Linked DNA regions of Homo sapiens: all the other regions are linked to region 1. The links are contacts of gene promoters, found by promoter capture Hi-C in blood cells and fetal thymus (Javierre and others, 2016). All regions are on one chromosome and are shown on one strand. Each heading gives the region's core, a stretch centred on a gene start or on the middle of the fragment in contact. The rest is flanking DNA. Distances are from core to core; before and after follow the strand shown.

The links. The method cuts DNA at HindIII sites, captures the fragments that hold promoters and counts their contacts. A CHiCAGO score of 5 or more calls a contact.
Region 2: the fragment with the promoter of NDUFB3 here is called in contact with the fragment with the promoter of TMEM237 in region 1 in 9 of 17 cell types (naive CD8 T cells, fetal thymus, monocytes and 6 more); the score reaches 15.3 in naive CD8 T cells.
Region 3: a contact is called between a fragment that was not itself captured here and the fragment with the promoter of TMEM237 in region 1, in 1 of 17 cell types (fetal thymus). The highest score is 5.2, in fetal thymus.

The regions. Positions count from the first base shown.
Region 1 is chr2:201,642,253-201,644,952 of GRCh38, reverse strand. TMEM237 (transmembrane protein 237) reads left to right here and starts at 1,450. Exons shown (of 13, transcript NM_001044385.3): 1 at 1,450-1,594. The coding sequence starts at 1,553. MPP4 (MAGUK p55 scaffold protein 4) reads left to right here. Exons shown (of 22, transcript NM_033066.3): 22 at 1-79. RefSeq lists silencers at 1,332-1,591, 2,162-2,351. The HindIII fragment of the contact is 8,699 bases long and covers 1-2,700 here.
Region 2 is chr2:201,070,581-201,073,280 of GRCh38, reverse strand. NDUFB3 (NADH:ubiquinone oxidoreductase subunit B3) reads right to left here and starts at 1,280. Exons shown (of 3, transcript NM_002491.3): 1 at 1,222-1,280. HYCC2 (hyccin PI4KA lipid kinase complex subunit 2) reads left to right here and starts at 1,610. Exons shown (of 13, transcript NM_001321623.1): 1 at 1,610-1,671. RefSeq lists enhancers at 758-1,381, 1,518-1,607, 1,628-1,897, 1,382-2,007, 1,998-2,137. The HindIII fragment of the contact is 13,158 bases long and covers 1-2,700 here.
Region 3 is chr2:202,235,234-202,237,933 of GRCh38, reverse strand. All of the region lies in intron 1 of SUMO1 (small ubiquitin like modifier 1), which reads left to right. Among named protein-coding and RNA genes, the nearest start is that of SUMO1, 2.0 kb to the left of the region's middle. The HindIII fragment of the contact is 685 bases long and covers 1,047-1,731 here.

The DNA.
Region 1 (2,700 bases), core at 201-2,700:
CCTTTCGCAGATTTCACATGATCTTTTTAAGATTTAAATAAAGAGCTTTCCTAAATAAAATAAGCAATAGTTAACTTTAGAAACTGTACTCTATGAAACGTGTTTTATGAAAACATCTTTTACAAAAAGTGCTTACTTGACTAACTCAGCAAGAAAGGTTTAATGTACACATTTCACATCTAAAATCAAAACCTACAAGAAACTGCACTGCCTTCACTATTTACAAATCGGCCTACAAGGAAAAAATTATTCTCATGAGAGGTGTGACAAACACTAATTTTCCTTAACAGCCAATATCTACATGCAGGCCTAAATTAGAAAAAGGCAATGGATTAATCCCAGAGACCTATATATAGAAAATCACAAGAGTGAAACCGTGTCTCAGAGTTAAAGAAACCAGGGACTAACAGAAATTCTTGAGCATGCAGGACGGCAGATAAAAAACAACTTGCTAAATAAAACGCCTAAACTTCTTCCATTGTGAGATTAAAAAACAAAACAAAACAAAACAAAGCAAACTGGCTGAAAGTGGTTAGTACTAACACGGATGGCTACCTGGAGTCTGTACAAAATGAGCTTGCTGGCGTCACAGCTTGAATCTTTCCCCATGTTTCACACTGACTCCCTCCAAAATTTGCACATGCGACCCATGAAGGGACATGAAGAGGTAACTGCGAACGCCAGAGGATTTTCCAGATGGCTTCTTTCCTTCCACCAATCACCTACTAATCCCAGAATCCACCCCCTAAACGTTTTCTAATAAAAATACTGTCTTAAAGCCAACACAGGGAGACAGATTAGAGCTATACTCCTGTCTCCTTGTTAGCTGACTCACAATGAAAACTTTTCTCAAAAAATCAGCGCCATAATATTGGCTTCTGTGCGTATAGGGCAACAAGCCCCGTTTGTTTGGTAACAAGATTAGGATGCCATTACAAAGTGCTGTTTCTCTTTCTTTCCCCAGATTTGAGATTTCCAGGCGCTTTCCCTGTCCCTGTATCTGTTCATCTTCTGCATCATTCTCTTCTCCATATCCACACCATTCTTCCATCTTTCCCATTTCTTTCTTAACTGTAAAACAGAATGCATGATTCAAAATATTTGTAGTTCTCTGTTACTTAAAGTGAAAGTTATCTTTAAAAAAAAACAAACCCAACCAAACCAAACGATGCAAATCAGGTAGTTTGTAGTGATATTTATGTGAGGTTGGATTTGATTTTAAGGTTGAGAAAAAGTTTTTCCAAATTTGATTTACACAGTTGTGGGATGAAGGGTAAGCAATCGGAGAAAATGTGAGAATTGCCTATATTAATACACATCCACACACCCAGGCCTGCACAGACTCGTTGGTCCTGGAGAGTAAACGCATTCCTCCCAAACCCAGCAGCGCCTGGCAGGACAGAGGCGGGCGGGGACCTGGCTCAGGGGGCGGCTGCCTCGCCAGGCGCCACGAAGCCCCGGCGTCCCACAGGTCCCGGAGGCCGCTGCGTCGCGGGGAGCTGGGCTCGGGCCGCCGGCGGTTGCGCCGGGGCAGCCCCGCGGGGAGAGCACCATGAGGACTGACTCGGGGGCTCGGCTGGAGGAGGGCCACCTGGTGAGCGGCGAGGGGCGCGTCGGCCTCGAGAGGTGGCGGGTAAACAGCTACACTTGGCAGTGGGGGTGGGTGTGTGTGGGGGGGCGCCAACGAGCTGGGAATCACTAAGGGAGGGCCTTGCTCGTGGGGTGCGCGCATCCGCCCCTCCAGTGTTCACAGGAATGGGACGGAGACGCAGGCGAGGCCGGGACCGAACTCCCGGAGTGGGAGAGAGAGGCCTGGCATGAAGTTTGCGGGGACCTGAGCCCGCGTTGCCACGACGACGCCTCACTCATCTGAGGCCCGGGGCCCGGCGGGTGCCGGGGCTTCCAGCCAGGCCTCTCCTAGACTCCTCCGAGGAGAGGTCTGTAGCTGCCCAGAAGAGATCTGTTCGCCTGCGGAGTCCTTTAATTAAGGTCTTCCGTCACGCCCCGCTTCCCGCAAACAAATCACCGCCACCACTTAGGAAACCACGGGAAAGCTGTGATTGCAGCGCCACGGTCGCCAGATTTCTGCTCCTGGGCACATTACCCCCAACTCCGAGGCCCCCTTTTTGGCAGGGCTAGTCTGGACTGGCCAATCCAGGTCCCTGCACGCCTCTCACCGCAACATCCCCGCAGGGCGCTGCGCGCGGGGTACTAGCCAGGCGGCGCGGCCCGATGACGCATTGCGCCTGCGCGCGCGACCGAGCCGGGAGGGGTGGGGCGCCAGGTGCTTGGGGGCCGGCGGCCGCCGAGGCCGGCTAAACGCAGAATGGGGAAGAATCCTGTGGTAAGCGAGCCTTAGCTACTTTTAATTGTTAGGATTTTTGTCTTCAGTTGAGCCGTCCTACTTTTGAGGATTAGAGGTTGGGTCTCTGGGTGGGTGGAACGTCATTTTTGCGGGACTTTTGAAATCAGTTACGTGAACAGAGCCCTGGGATCGATCGCGCGCGCTTCGTAGCATCTTTAGAACAATAGCGCGTTCCTGTGACTGTCATTCTTCTCCAATTGTAATTTTGACTACTGGATGGTATTACGGCAGCTTGCCTCGTCCTAATCTTGTAGTACTTGCATTAATCTACTGTTCGAACGAATGGATTGCTAAATGGGACAAACTACAAGAGTGTCTAAAATTTAACCCTTTTG
Region 2 (2,700 bases), core at 31-2,530, 570 kb after region 1:
CACATGCACTCTGAACCCATTTATATAGATTGAAATGCCTAACAATTCATTTTTTAGGAATTCATCATAGACGGAAAAATTAAAGTAAAACAAGTGAGTGCTTAGCACAAGTCAGGATAATGGTTACCTCTTGGTGGAGGAGATGGAATCACAGAAACATACTGGGAGATTCTAAGGCAGTGTTTTTCAACCAATTTTTAACTATTGTCCCTGTAAGGAACCTTTCTAGACATTTTATTCCTAATCACACCCCCCGCCATGAAAATTTAACACTACATATATACTGTATAACTGTTTATATACTGTGGCCCTTTGGAGGGACACAAATCATTGTAGTAACTAAGATTCCGACCCCGGCCCCACCAATTTTCAACCCCTTGAAATGTAAAATCACCCCTGTTAAGACTGCATGTTCTAAGTTATTGGCAATGCTTTATTTTCTAATCTAAGAGGTGGATACAGGAGTGTCTGCTTCTGTTAGTTATAATTTTTTAAAATGTATGTTTTATACACCCTTCTGTATATATACTTGACAATAAAAAATAAAAATAGAAAAATTGACTTAAATTGTGCTGAGGACTGAAAAATGGTGGTTATTTCCGTTTCAGAGCAGCTCAAATAATAACAGTAAGGAAATTAGTTAAATAAAGAAAAAACATGCAACCAAAAATTTTAAAAGCTATCTATGTCTGAAGTGAATCTAAAAGTCTCATGAAGATCAACCTCCACTAAAGGAAGCTGGCTCTAAGAAAATGTGCTGGTATCCTTTCCCTAAGAAAGAAATAAGAAGATAATGCTACTTCCACTACATGCAATTTTAGTTTACCGAAGACTATCAAGTATATATCTTAACTTCCTCGTATTAAAAACTGTGATTATATGAATATTAGAACATAAAAAACAAATGAACTGTTATTACTTTTAGTGATGCTGTTCTTCTGCCTTTGCGATCCAAAGGCAAACAAAGACAATTTTGCGTGTGGCAGAAGCGGGAACAAGCACCTGGATTTAACAACTACAGTAATGATCACTGAATCCTCCAACCACCTCTTCCTACCCCAACTCTAAACTAGGACTTCATTAGTTCTCGCCTGCTAGTTCTTTGATCTCCCTCCCAGCCTCCCATCCTTCTCCATTTAGTCTCTCCTTTTCTGCACTCCCCAGAATAGAGTCTAGCTCTTAATCCTAATCAACGGGCCTCCCACCAACTCCCTAATTTACCTGACAGCAATCTGACCTCTCAGGACACTCAACTCTGCAACCGGAGCCAACCGGAAACGGAGGTTGTCACCTCGAGTTTCTCACGGCAGGAAAGCGGAGAAGCCGCTTAACGTTCCGATACTGGGTTAGAGATTCCTGAATCAGGTAGAGACTACATGAGGGACGCTGGAAGTCGATTATTTTCCCAGTATATGTGCATCCTCAATCTGACTGAGGTAACAGATACTGTAGAAAAGAGAAGGGCGGGGAAGATAATATGTTGTCCTTGCTTGGGGACGGAATCCTTAGACACCGCACACAGGGCGGGGCTGCCGGCATACTGCAGCCAATAAGGGAGGCTGTTGTTGAGAGCGTGTTCTCACCCAATGAGAGGGTTGGTTGTTGCGCTGCAGTTGGCAGGCTGCTGCGGGAGGCGGCGGCGGTAGGAAGCCGGAGACAGCAGGGTGACAGGTAGGCGGCGGTGCTGTCTTTGGGGGAGGCAAAGTGCTAGATGAAGAGGGGTTTTCTTCTCCTTCGGCCGCGGAAACTACAGACGGGAGCTGGCGAGGGTGGTCTGGAAAGGCGGTAGCCGGTGTGTTGGTGGTCCCGGAACCTCTCGTAAACCAGGTAGCATCTTGGGAGGGTCGTGAGGAGGAGAAGGCGGCAGCCGAGGCGGGTGGAAGCCGAGCCTTGTGGGGCGACGTGGGGGCCCACCTAGGGCGTGGGGGCTGCGGTGGCGCCAGCAGAGAGGGAGGAGAGGCGGGAGCAAGGCGGTGTCGTGAGGGCTGAAGGGATTCTTTGCACAAAGCCCCAGGCGAGAAAAGGACACGGCATTGAAGACAGTTAAGAGAAATCCCAGTGATTGCTTCTTAGGGCCATTTCCTGGGGGTGGTGAGGGGGAGCGGAGAAGAAAAATATTTACTGGCGGTCAGATTCTGAACACTCATTATTGCTGTACATTATGTAATCTTTGGCTGTTATTTACCCAAACAACTAGGTTGTCCCTCCTGGGAGAGGAGGTCTTGCAACCTATTAATGTGTTAGAACACTTTTTTCATTGGCTTGAGTGCCATTTACATTGGCAGGTTCTCTAGGCGAAGGGTGGTAGCATGGAGGATAGAGTAGTCACGAAGAGCTTATCCCAATTATGGACTTGACAGATACTAGTTTGCGATGAATGTGGCCAGGTTCATGTTTTGTAGTTCGTGAATTTATTTGAGGGTCAAGGCTGACAACATTTTTTAAAGATCTTCAGAAAAGTGGGGAATCCTTTAAAAATGTACAGTAGGAGCTCAGTGTAAGTTGGAAAATGACTAGAAAATTAGTTGGTAGATCCCTTCCTCCCCCCAGGATATTGTGGAAGTTAGGGACTGTGCAAATAAGGTGGTGGTCTGAATATGGGGAAAAAAATAAACTTTTTTTTTTTTTGAGACGGAGTTTCGCTGTTGTTGCCCAGGCTGGAGTGCAATGGCGCGATCTCGGCTCACAGCAACCTTCGCC
Region 3 (2,700 bases), core at 140-2,639, 590 kb before region 1:
AGGGAGACGTCCGATGTTGTTGGGAATCCTGCCTCCGTTCGGATTGGAGCTAGGGCAAGGATGCCGCTGCTCTCCTCTGAGTCTTTTTCCGTGTGGGGGTGCAGAGCTGTCGCCTCTTTACTGTACTTTCCCGTTTCTTACTCGGGATTGGTTCATCCTAGCTCTCCAGTTGTAAGAGAGCATTCATAATAACCAAGAAAGAAAATAGAACTAAACTGCTAGAGCAACAAAAAGCATCTCACCTGGGCATTAACCTGAGGAAGTCTCATATTTTTGAGGAAAAGCATAGGAAAACTTTGTGTATGTAGAGTCGTTGCAGAATATTTGCAGAAAGTTGCCTGGTAAGGCAAAGTGCTCCAGCTCACTGTTAGTATCAATAATTTACTTGGGATTTGCACTTAATCAGGAGTGATCGATTTCCCCTTTTCTTCCTCATCCTGTTCTAATTAAACAACTTTATGGCTAGTTTTTAATTCATAAAGTTTTTGTCTGGTCTTTTGTTTGCTCAGACGACTTTGACTTTTTTTTTTTTTTGAGACGGAGTCTCGCTGTGTCGCCAGGCTGGAGTGCAGTGGTGCGATCTCCACTCACTGCACCCTCCCGCCTCCTGGGTTCAAGCAATTTTCGGGCCTCAGCCTCCCGAGTAGCTGGGATTACAGGCACTCACCACCAGGCACTCACCACCACACCTAGCTAATTTTTGTATTTTTAGTAGAGACGGGGTTTCACCATATTGGCCAGGCTGGTCTCGATCTCCTTACCTCGTGATCCGCCCACCTCGGCCTCCCAAAGTGCTGGGATTACGGGCGTGAGCCACCGCGCCCAGCCGACTTTGACTTTTTACATTATTTTTGGACTTTTACTCATTTAATGGTAGTTATTCAGAAAACTATTTTTCATTCAACTCCACGATGTACTTGAACTTTTAAATTTAACACACCTATTCCCTTGGCTTTTAACCCAGTTTTGTACCATTTCGTGAGAGCAAGTGAGGTTTTTGCAGATTGGTACTATTGTACAAAATGTACACTTAACATTTTAAAGCTTAACCATAATCTAGATGAATTTTGGATGGATCTACTTACTAATAATCTAGATTAATTCCCAAGTGGGCATTGTGTTTCCCTAGGTAGTTGTTTACTTGGTTACTAGGAAGAAAAGTATAGGCGTAAATGCTTAGTTTCGTCAGCCTTTTATTTTGTTTCCCAGAAGCGTCTAGGAAGCATTTTGAAATTTATTGTAGACTGATGGAAGAGCAACATAAAGAAATAATTATAAAATGTAGAATTTATTGCTCCATTTTGAAGTCAGGTTATTTAAGAGATACATAAAGAAATGAAGGACCTAGGATACAAATAGATTCTTTTATTTCATGTTCATACTAGGACATTATTTGTCTTTTTCACTGTCATTCTTTCATGAGTGTTCAATGGACGTTTCTAGAAACTAACATGACTTGTGATAAAACAAATTAAATGTGGAAGCAGATGTGAAAATCCAGCTGTTTAGCTGTTTTTATTAAGCCAGACATTAAAGAGATTTGCAAAAATGTGTAACAGTCCCACTCTTTCATTAATTTTGTTTTGAAAAATATTTTTAATAAAAATATATATTTGTTAACATATAACAGGTTTGTTGGTATTTTAAAATGAATTAATATTTAAGACATTTCTCAGTTTTCAGTGTTTAATACTGTAAACATCAATAGATGTAACCAACCTAACAAAAGCTTTATGGGATTCTAAATAAATTTAAGTGTAAGATTCCTGAGAACAAAAAGTTTGAGAACTGTTGCTGTAGGCTGATTGACCAACATCATTAGGACTCGCCGGGTGCAGTGGCTTAAGCCTGTAATCCCAGCACTTTGGGAGGTCAAGTTGGGTGGATCACGAGGTCAGGAGTTCTAGACCAGCCTGACTAACATGGTGAAACCCCGTCTCTACTAAAAATACAAAAAATAGCCAGGCGTGGTGGTGCGCACCTGTAATCCCAGCTACTCAGAAGGCTGAGGCAGGAGAACTGCTTAAACCCGGGAGGCGGAGGTTGCAGTAACTGGAGATCACTCCACTGCACTCCAGCCTGGGCGACAGAGTGAGACTCCGTTTAAAAAAAAAAAAAAGACTCAGTACATTGGCCGGGTGCAGCGCCTCACACCTGTAATCCTGGCACTTTGGGAGGCCTAAGTGGGGGAGGATTGCTTGAGCCCAGTTTGAGACCAGCCTGGGCAATATAGAGAGACGTCGTCTCTACAAAAAATAAAATTAGCCAGGCATGATGGCCTGTACCTGTAGTCCCAGCTACTCAGGAGGTTGATATGGGAGGATCACCTGAGCCTGCGAGGTCGAGGTTGCAGCAAGCCAAGATCATGCCACTGTACTTCAGCCTGGGCGATAGAGACCCTGACTCAAAACAAAGAAGACCCAGTACAAGTTCAGTGTTGAGTGCTAAAGACTTAAAAGAGTTATAAAGCTGAACCCTTAATCTTAAGAGGTTTATAAGTGAGAACAAGAATCTCCAAATCCTGTACTGTTTAATATCAGCATGAGACTAAACCACTGTCCTAAGAAGACAACCTTAATTTGAATCAAGTTATTTTAGAGTGATGTGTTTTCTGAGGCAGCTCTCAGAAGGTTATTGTCTGGTGTTAAAATAGTGAAATTGAGTAATAACAAGGTTAAAATCGGTGGACATTAAATACAC